Regions from separate parts of the Homo sapiens genome. Here all the other regions are linked to region 2. The links are contacts of gene promoters, found by promoter capture Hi-C in human tissues and cell types (Jung and others, 2019). All regions are on one chromosome and are shown on one strand. Each heading gives the region's core, a stretch centred on a gene start or on the middle of the fragment in contact. The rest is flanking DNA. Distances are from core to core; before and after follow the strand shown.

What was found. Contacts are between HindIII fragments. The study calls those that stand out against the background at their distance.
Region 1: a fragment that was not itself captured here is called in contact with the fragment with the promoter of GYG1 in region 2 in 1 of the 25 tissues and cell types used here (neural progenitor cells).
Region 3: a contact is called between a fragment that was not itself captured here and the fragment with the promoter of GYG1 in region 2, in 1 of the 25 tissues and cell types used here (H1 embryonic stem cells).

The regions. Positions count from the first base shown.
Region 1 is chr3:149,404,066-149,407,442 of GRCh38, reverse strand. It overlaps LOC105374151 (a long non-coding RNA gene), which reads left to right and starts at 2,653. Exons shown (of 3, transcript XR_924574.3): 1 at 2,653-2,825. The HindIII fragment of the contact is 7,007 bases long and covers 1-3,377 here.
Region 2 is chr3:148,990,016-148,993,352 of GRCh38, reverse strand. GYG1 (glycogenin 1) reads right to left here and starts at 1,813. Exons shown (of 8, transcript NM_004130.4): 1 at 1,706-1,813. The coding sequence starts at 1,712. RefSeq lists silencers at 797-1,091, 1,125-2,174. The HindIII fragment of the contact is 14,804 bases long and covers 1-3,337 here.
Region 3 is chr3:149,352,788-149,355,865 of GRCh38, reverse strand. No RefSeq gene overlaps it. Among named protein-coding and RNA genes, the nearest start is that of TM4SF18, 21 kb to the right of the region's middle. The HindIII fragment of the contact is 4,261 bases long and covers 1-3,078 here.

The DNA.
Region 1 (3,377 bases), core at 97-2,596, 410 kb before region 2:
TACAGCATTAAACATCATGTGGAAGACTAATGATGTGAAAACCTGTGCTATATTAAATGAACAAAGCAGGAGATGTAAACATATAGACAACATAATATCATGTTTTATTTTCTTTAAAAAAAGTTTATTTGTGTAGAGAAAAAAGGACTGGAAGGTTATGTAATACCAAGCATTGTGCGACTGGAATATATTTGACTATTATTATCAGACTGCAAGGTAATACCAATATACCAAAATATTAACTCAAAATATTAATGATGAATTTCCCTGAATGGTGGATATAGGAGTGGTCCTTTCTCCTTTTCTTTGTGTCTCCCTCCCTTCTTCCCTTTCTTCCTTCTTTCCTGTCTCTTTTCTTCCTTTTTAAACCTCTGTTCTTTAAACCTAAAGTGGGCATCGATTTATTCCTTTTATGATTATAAGACTTTTTAATTTTTTTCATTGAGGTGAAATTAACGTAACATAAAATTAACCATTTAAAGTGAACAATTTACTGGCATTTAGTACATTCACAGTATTTTGCAACCACCACCTGTAAGTCTAAAACATTTTCATCATCCCCAAATGAAACTTTATATCTATTAAGCAGTTATTCCTCATTCTCCCCTAACCGCTGTCCCTAGGAACCACAAATCTGCTTTTGATCTCCGTGGATACCTCTTCTGGATATTTTTTATAAATGGAATCATAAGATATGTGAATTTTGTGTCTGATGTCTTCTACTTAGCATATTTTTGAGGTTCATCCACATTGTACTGTGTGTCAGTACTCCATTTCTTTTTATGGCCGAATAATATTCCCTCATATAGATCATGACTTGTTTATTCATACATCCATTGATGGACATTTGGGTTGTTTCCCATATAGAACTTTCCTTCCTTCCTTCCTTCCTCCCTCCCTCCCTCTCTCTCTCCTCTCTCTTTCCTTCTTTCTTTCTTTCCTTCTTTCTTCCTTCCTTCTTTTCTCTTTCTTTTTTCTTTCTTTCTTCCTTTCTTTCCTTCTTTCTTTCTTCCTTTCTTCCTTCTTTTCTCTTTCTTTCTTTCTTTTTTCTTTCTTTCTTCCTTCCTTCCTTTCTCTTTCTTTTTTCTTTCTTTCTTTCTTTTTTTCTTTCTTTCTTTCTCTCTCTCTCTTTCTTTCTTCCTTTCCTTTTTTTTTCTTCAAATAGAGACGGGTCTTACTATGTTGCCCAGGTTGGTCTCAAACTCCTAGCTTCAAGCAAGTCTGCCTCAGCCTTCCGAGTGACTGGGATTACGGGATGCAAGCCACTCAGCCCAGCTTCACATTTAAAACTTTTAGAAGTTATTCTATAACACTGAGTTTGTCAGGTAATGAACCTGAAGATTAATGAAGAAAAGGGAGTGGGCTAGGGAAAAATCAGTATTAGCAAACTTTGTCAATTTTCTTAATTTAAAAGTATACATAAGCACGGAAAATTTGATGTACGGGAGGTGATATGAGCAAATTTAAGTATGCCTCTTACTCATGTTTCCCTGTCCTCCAATTTTCTTCCTCAGAGGCAACCTCTCTAACACATTTTTGTGTTTAAATATATTTTTTGCATGAACAAATATACATGTGTATTTGTATATATGCATATATATTTTCTGACTTTTTTCCTTCTTTCAAAGAATTATTAGTGATATTCTAAGCTCCAGTAACACACAGGGAAAGGTGGCTTGCTAATAGTTTTTTTGTGTAATTTTTTGAGACTGGGGCTTGCTCTGTTGCCCAGGCTGGAGTGCAGTGGCACGATCACAGCTCACTGCAGCCTCTATCTTACGGGCTACAGTCAGCCTCCCACCTTGGCCTCCCGAGAAGCTGGGACTACAGGCATGTACCACAACACCCAGCTAATTTTTTTATTATCTTTTTTCGTAGAGACAAGTTTACACTATGTTGCCCAGGCTCGGCTAATGCTCCTTTGAAGAGCTCCTTCCTTTCCTTTATCTGAGCTCCCACTCCTCTTTGAGTGTTCCCTTAACCTTCCAAATAAACTACTTGCACTCAAGTCCTAGTTTCAGGTCTCTTCTGGGAACCCAAGCTGAGACACAAACTTTATTTTATTAAATTTTTATAGTGCTCTGGGAGGTAGGTGTTTTAAAAAACTCCATCCTGCAGGTGAGGAAACAGAGTCAGCCAAGTAACCGAGTCAAGTTAGAGAATGGCAGCTAAGATTCTAACTCAGGTGGATGGGTGCTTTTCTTTTCTTCCTTTTTCTTTTCTTTTTTCTTTTTTGTTTATATCCCTTGCTTTGCTCTGGGGAATAACCAGCGTCTAACTTCAGAGAGTATAAACCTGCAGTAGCGCTAGCTGGAAAGCAAGGCCTGGTGCTGGCTGTTGGGGGAGCAACACACAAAGGTGTCATTCTTTGTAATGTCAGGCTCCTACTTTTACACGGTTTTCTGTTTTGTCTTTTCATCATAGCCTTCACAATTGTCATATCAAAGTCGTTTCCTAAAAACATTAAGCCTTATAAGATGCACCACATTTGTTTGTAAAATGTACAACTTTTGGAAACTCCATTCAGGGGGTAGACACCAGACCTCCCCCTGGCTCCTGTGCGCATGTTTAATCTCTCTTCAAATGCCCACACCATTTCCTGCAAAAATTGATTGGCTATGGTTCATCACCTCCTCTGGGTGATCTGCTATCTTCCTTCTCTTATGACTCAGGTTATTGACAGCTGGGAAAAGGCACACACCTCTGACTGATGGTGACCCAAAAAGAAATCATAGAGAAGCAAATTTGGCTCCACTGGTTTGATTTTTCCTTCCTTCCTCCTTACACATCCAAGGAGGTTTTGCTCTGGAAATCTCTTGCTATGGGTAAGTGAATGGGTTTGTGGGGTAGGTTCTCATGGAGACGCCTCACCAGGGCCTCTCCCGCTATTTCCTCAGAACCCCACCTAACAGCCACATTACCCTTAGCATTAACTCTTTCAGACACAGACAATAGATATTATAAAAGTATTTTATTAATTCTCTTCACTGTGGTAAGTTTTATGACTTTTATAATCTTTCTAAGAACAATCACAACATTGGATGCCTCTGAATATGGAGATAACAAGACTTGTTTCACAGCATTTCCTCACAATCAAAGTACACTGGAATCAATACTCTTGGGAAAAGTTCCCGAAACACTGGGAAATTAAAAAATTTCCTAAGTGCTAAATGATTCAAATAGTTCAGGATGATAAATTAATTTGGGGATAATTATTTACTATTATTAAATTATTTTAAATAATCTAAACATACATTGTATTTCCACTTAGGTCTTTGTTATCCAATATTATTTCACTATGTCTCAAAATACTATATTTATATATATGCTGGCAATCCTATATATGCATATATGTATTTGTGTGTGTACATACATAT
Region 2 (3,337 bases), core at 564-3,063:
AAGGTGCAGGTCCATCCTGCACCCTCCCCCTCCCCCCGCCCAAACCAACAGACACGCACCCCAATCTCCAATAATCACTTAGTTGCCAGAAGAGAAGGTAAATACATGGATTTTTCCTCCTGCTGAACAGTCCCCACCCTCCCAAGACCCCTAGCACAGGCTTCAAGATTTCTCCAGTCATTCCCTGGGACAATTCTGGGCCATGTTCCATCTCCAAGAAACATTAGCAAGTTGGTGGGCATCCAAATGCATAGGACACTTCGGATCAAGTTCTGGTAGGAGTCAGTTGCTTAACCAGCGAGTTGGGACATTTTGTCATGAAGTCCTTCTCTTTCTGACCTGGCTTTCCCTCATTCTCCCTTGCCCGTTTTCCAAGGTGGAGGCTGGAAGCAGTAGAAATTCCACCGAGACATGAGAGGAAGTTGTGGGTTGCCTAGTGGGCCAGCGCATCCCTCGGCTGCTGACCTGAGAGCCATCTTCACACATTTTATTAGGCCCTCTCCCACGGCAGGCCAACTACTAAGTTGTAGGAAGACCAGTTCCCCACCCCCGAAGGGCCACCAGCTTCCCAGTCACTCACACTCTAGGAAAGCTCTGAACAGTGGCACCTGTCCCTTGACAGGCCCATCAACATCCGCCTGTACTTGCTTCTATTATCTTCAGCCCATTATAACATGGGTAACATCGCTGTCAATCTGTACCAAAAATACTTAAGCTAGGCAAAATGAATGATCATCTAACTCAAATGAAGTCCAGGTTCCAGGCGATCATGGAGAAAAATGTAATAAGGTGAGCAGGATTCAAGGATTTCTGGAAGCAAGGATATGGATGATTTCCAAGATTAAATAAGGGATAGAACACAGGTTAGAACACCAGACTAGCCAACATTACAAATGACCAAGAAAGACCAATGACAGCTGGGTAGGAGTTTAATCTTCCTAAAGACGGCTGAACTCTGGGTTACACCTGCAATCTTTGTGGCAGTTCAACTGCTGTAATAACCCTGGCTATTAGCCTCAATGACACGGAAGGACCAGCTAACTCGGAGCTTCCCAGTGCTGGGGCTAACTCGTGGAGTGGCCCGGACGCCTCGCAACAAGTGAAGCCAAAGCCGGCGCCCTCCCACCAGACGGGGCTCGCGCCCGGGGACGCTAGTCCGACTCCCGGCTTCCCGCAACCCGGCCCCAAAGGCCTAAAAATAGGCTCAGCGTGGCGGCCGGGGCCGGGGCGGGCGGCGGAGGAGCCGGGCGGAGGCCGCAGTATCCCCGCCTCGGAGCCCCTGCTTCCTGGGGTTCCGGGCCGCCAGAGGCCGGGGCAGCTCCCCACGATGCCGCTGCGCCCCGGACTCCCGCCTGGAACCCCCAGGGGAACCGGCTCCCCACCCCCACACGGCCCCGCCGCAGCTGCTCCGCCCGCCGGCCCTTCGCCGTGAGAGCAAGAGGAAGGACGAGGAGACGGAAGCAGGAACGAGAGCTCCGGCCGAGGGCCCGGGCTCTGCCCGGCTGCCCCATCCCTGCACTCTGGGGGGCGGCGGGGCGGCAGCTGACGCAGGCAGAAACACGCCCGGCTGCGGCCAGCCAGCAACTTTGCGGCGGTTTCGTCCTGCCGGGAACACTCCGGGGCTGAGGGCGGAGGAGAAGGGAGGCGGCGGCTGGGCAGGAAGCCGGGGTCCCGGGGCTGGCGGCGGCGGGCTGCGCGGCGGTACCTGTCATGGTGCTGCCGGGTGCGCAGGCGGCCGGGGCAGCCTCAGGTTGGTGACTCAGAGAAGCCGGCACCGGGAGGGAGCGCGGCCAGCGAGGAGGCACGGCGGGGAACCGAGCGTCTGCCCCGTGCGCTCTTATAGCGGCCGTCACGTGGCCGCGCACGCTCTCGCTGCCGTCCGCATCCTCCCAGCTGCGCGGCCGGCAGGGGCGGTGGCCCGCGGGGCTCCGGGTCCCGCGTCTCCCTCGGCTCCTCCTCCCTCCCTCGGGGCTAGGCTGCCGCTGCGGCTGCGGCTCACCGGCGCCCCTGCTCCTACTTCCCCGGGGCGCCTGCCCTTGTCAACCGCGCGCCCCCTGTCGCCGCTAAACCTGGGAGTTAAGGGGGACTTTGGGGCTGAGTGCGGCATCAAACTCCCCAAGAAGCCAAGGGTTAGGGAACCTTAAAAAACAAGCAAACAAACCCCAGATTACTCTAGTTAAAATCGTGAGTCTGAACTGCTTGAATGAAACGTAAAATTTACGCTTTTTTTGCAGAATTTCGATCAGCCTCTATAATCATTCCTTAGTGTACTCACAATGGTTTTGTACCCTTAACCTAAAAAATATAGTGAATATTTCGTAAATGTTAAATTCTTGGAGCCATCTGCATCAATTAGGCATTTAAGTGCTTCATTTAATCCTTGTACGAACTCAGTGAGGTGTTACATATTCATTTTACAGACGAGGAGGAAACTGAGCTCAGAAAAGTTAAATTAACTTTTCTTTTCTTTTTTTTCTTGTATTTTTAGTAGAGACAGAGTTTCACCATGTTGGCCAGCCTGGTCTGGAACTCCTGGCCTCAAGTGATCTGCCAGCCTTAGCCTCCCAAAGTGCTAACTTTTCTATAGTCATATAATATAAATGGAGAAAGTAGGATTTAAACCCTGGCAGTTTGGTTACAGAATCAACCTTCCCACCCAGAAAGTCTTGGTGCCTCTTGTACACAGGGGCTCCAAAAAGGTTAGTAAATTATTGTAACTGTGGTTAGCCAATGCTAACCTGTTTCACAAATCTTGAAATGGTCAATTTGTCATTTTTCTAGGAAGTTGAGAAATAGCTTTAATGTGATCACATCCTTCTCTGCTCCCCATCCCCAGTCCAAACACAGAACAAGCCTCGGGTAGTTCAGTTCTCTGCAAACTGAAAACTGAAATTGCTCGGTAAATGTTGAATGAGTACTGCAAAGCCATTTGGAAACCAATCAGGAAGTTGACATCAGTTCAAAAAGCAAAACAGATGCTTAAGAATAAGTGATTTATTTGCAAAGGTGGTACTGCTGTCCTCAAACCAGTTATATCACTGTTTCCTCGTGTGTGGGTGTGGATCTCCTACATCAGAATCACTTGGGGGCACTGGTTAAAGCGTAGATTTTTGGGCCTAAGCCCAGACCTCCTGAATCAGAATCTTAAGGGTAGGTTTATTTTGGTGCAAAATAATTTTGAAATCCATGCATTTTTTTTTTATAATATGTATATTCTATGGACTTTTTGAAGTCGCGTCATATACTCTTGAGGTAATGAAATACTCTGTAGGCATAATCATTATATATTTTTAATATAAAAAGCTGTTCAAAATATATTATTTGAAGAAAAACAGGT
Region 3 (3,078 bases), core at 430-2,929, 360 kb before region 2:
AAAGGGTCCCATAGGCAGTACATTCTCAATTAAGCAGAATAAAATGTAGAGGACAGTGCTGATTAAGAATCTGGAAAAGAGCCTTCCTTTGATTAACATGAGAATGAGAAGAATTTATGTCTTCAAAACACTTCCCATGCGGATTAATAGTTAAGAACAAGATCTGTGTTCACTCTGAGAGGCCGAGGCGGGCGGATCACGAGGTCAGGAGATTGAGACCATCCTCTGCTTTTTGTATTTTTAGTAGACCGTCTCTACTAAAAATACAAAAAGTTAGCTGGGTGTGGTGGCGGGCGCCTGTAGTCCCAGCTACTCGGGAGGCTGAGGCAGGAGAATGGCGTGAACCCGGGAGGCGGAGCTTACAGTGAGCCAAGATCACGCCACTACACTCCAGCCTGGGCGACAGAGCAAGACTCCATCTCAAAAACAAACAAACAAACAAACAAAAAACTCTCTTCTGAGTCCTGCTTTATCCTAGAAGTCATGTTATATCCATCTCTATTAAGAACAAAACCTTTCAACAAACATATACTGACTGGCTACTCCTCATCAAGCCGAATAATGAGGATGAAAAGAAAGCTTTTATTTTCCCAGTGTATGAGAAGAAATCCCTGTTACAAAATGCAGATAATATGTTTCATCAATTATAAGATGCACATTTTTGTCACCCGATAACATACCTGAAATTTGCGTGTATCTTACAATTGAGGGCAGGTCATAGATTCATTAGCAGCATTTTTTGCCCTTTTAACTATTTCATAGACTAGCTCATGGACAGAAGGGCTCATAGATGGGTCATCTTCAAATTGAGGCATCTCAGATTAAGTTAAATATGACAGTAACTATCTCTCAGGATTGTTCAGGGGGTAACCTTGGAAAAGCACTTATTCATTATTTACTGCTACATAGCAGATTACTTCAAAACATAAGAGTTTAAAACAACAGTTTTTTTCTCACAGTTTCTGCGGGCCAGGAATCCAGGAGCAGATTAGCTCAGGTTCTGCCTCAGGGTCTCTGAAGAGGTTACAGTCAAGGTGTCAGCTGGGTCTGCTGTCATCTACGGCTTGCTAGTGGAGGATCCACTTCCAAAATCACCCACACAGCTGTTGGTAGAAGGCTTCAGTTCTCCACACTGTGAGCCTCTCCACAGAGCTTCTTACAATAAGGCAACTGGCTTCTTCTACAGTGAGTGATGAGAAAGAGAGCCCAAGATGGAAGCTGCAGTCTTTTATACCTAATCTTGGAAGTTACCTATTATTCCTTCTTTCATATCCTATTGGTCACACTGGGCAACAATAGTACAAGATGGGAAGGGACTACACAGGAGGCAGGGATCACTGGGAACCACCTTGGAGACTGGCCATCGTAGAACTCAACACACTGAATGATGAAAATAAAATAAGAAATAAGTGTTAGTTTCTTTCCTTTTTACCTCATGTGGATGCTGTTGAAAGAGATTGAGTCTACACTTGAATTTGTATTATCATCAAACTCAATAACTTCAGTCTATGTCAACTCCAGTTGTATATCTGGAGTGGCAACTGGAATGAGAGAAAGATGCTGAAGAGTGTATTTTGTGTCTGACTAGTTGGTATTGTTGGTGACAGATGAAGAGCTTTCACCTATCTTGTATCAAGTTGGAAAATCTTAGAATTTTACTGATATCTGTTTGGAAAGAAATGCTGAAAAAAGCTAACTTAGGCCCTTTTATGTCCTTCTGGCTTCTGTCATATGAGGACACAACAAAAAGGCCCTCATCAGACACCAAATTCCACTGTTTTGACCTTGGACAGCTCAGCTTCCAGGCACTGTGAGAAATAAATTTCTATTGTTTATAAATGACCCAGAGCATAGTATTTTGTTATAGCAGTACAAAAGGTTTAAGATAGGTCACAAGGACAACTCACTGTGGCCCCGGAGTTGAGATATTTTGACAGTCCATGCAAAGTCTATCTACCTAATTCAGTGGGTAGCTGGAACAGACCACTGTGATTGGCCAACTGAACAGGATCACATGAATGCTAGAGGGTAGTTCTCAAAAGGCAAGAAAAAGGAGATTCCAGGTGGTCAAAACAATAATACATGGTTGCTATGAGTGGACATGGTGGGAACCTCACAAGTACCTGGGGTGGAGAGAGGGACATGGAAAATAGAGAGCAGAGTGAGGTGGCTCCAATGACCAGTTGCAATTGGAACTCAGTGGCCCCTGGTCAAATGCTTGTGTATTCAGTGCTGGAAAGTAGAAAACCAGTGCAGATGCTGACAGACCTAACTTAACCACCCACCTCGACTCACTTCCAGCTTCCATCCAGTCTGTACGTAATTCTTCAGCCTTCCAAACCTAATAATACCTCCAGAAATGGAGACACAGGATCATGCTGTGGAAAGAGCAAGTACTAGTAGTCAGGGCCCTCAGTCTCACATTTGCCCCTGACTTGATCAAGTTCACTTCCTTCTCAATAAACATGGCATTAGGCCAGACAATATTTAAGCAGAGTATGGTGGAAATGTGGGCAGGTCTGAGGGTGGGGAAAATAAAAGGATAAAATACCCCTGAGGGATTAGATATATTTAAAATCACAAAGGTATTATATCACAGATCTATAACTTTACTAAAATATAAAAATGAATGAAAATATATTTGGTATTATTTTATCTTAGCCCTGTAAGAGAAGCTAATTTTCTCTTGTGGCTCTTCAGTTTTTAGTAAGAGAAGTGCAAGCAACTTTTTCTTATGGGCCAGGATGAAAAATAGCCTTATGAACTCCCAGGAGGAGTTTTTTCTTAAGGGGATACATATCATTTAAACCACAGAAGAGAGGTAAGTAAAGGGTGAGTAACCTAGATTGTCTAGAAAAAGGTGGTATTAGAGAGACCCTTTATGTTTTCTGAGTTGCAGAGTTGTGTTGGAAATAACACTGCCACCTATCCCTTGGCCATGATTAGAAAGAAACAATGGGAGGCAGTTCTGTAAACAGTGGAATCCATTTGACTCAAAGCTTCTGGGGCCAGCTCCGGTGTACGTAAACTGATTTTATGAATTTAAAGGGCTGCCACACTGGGGCCCCGGGCAGAGCT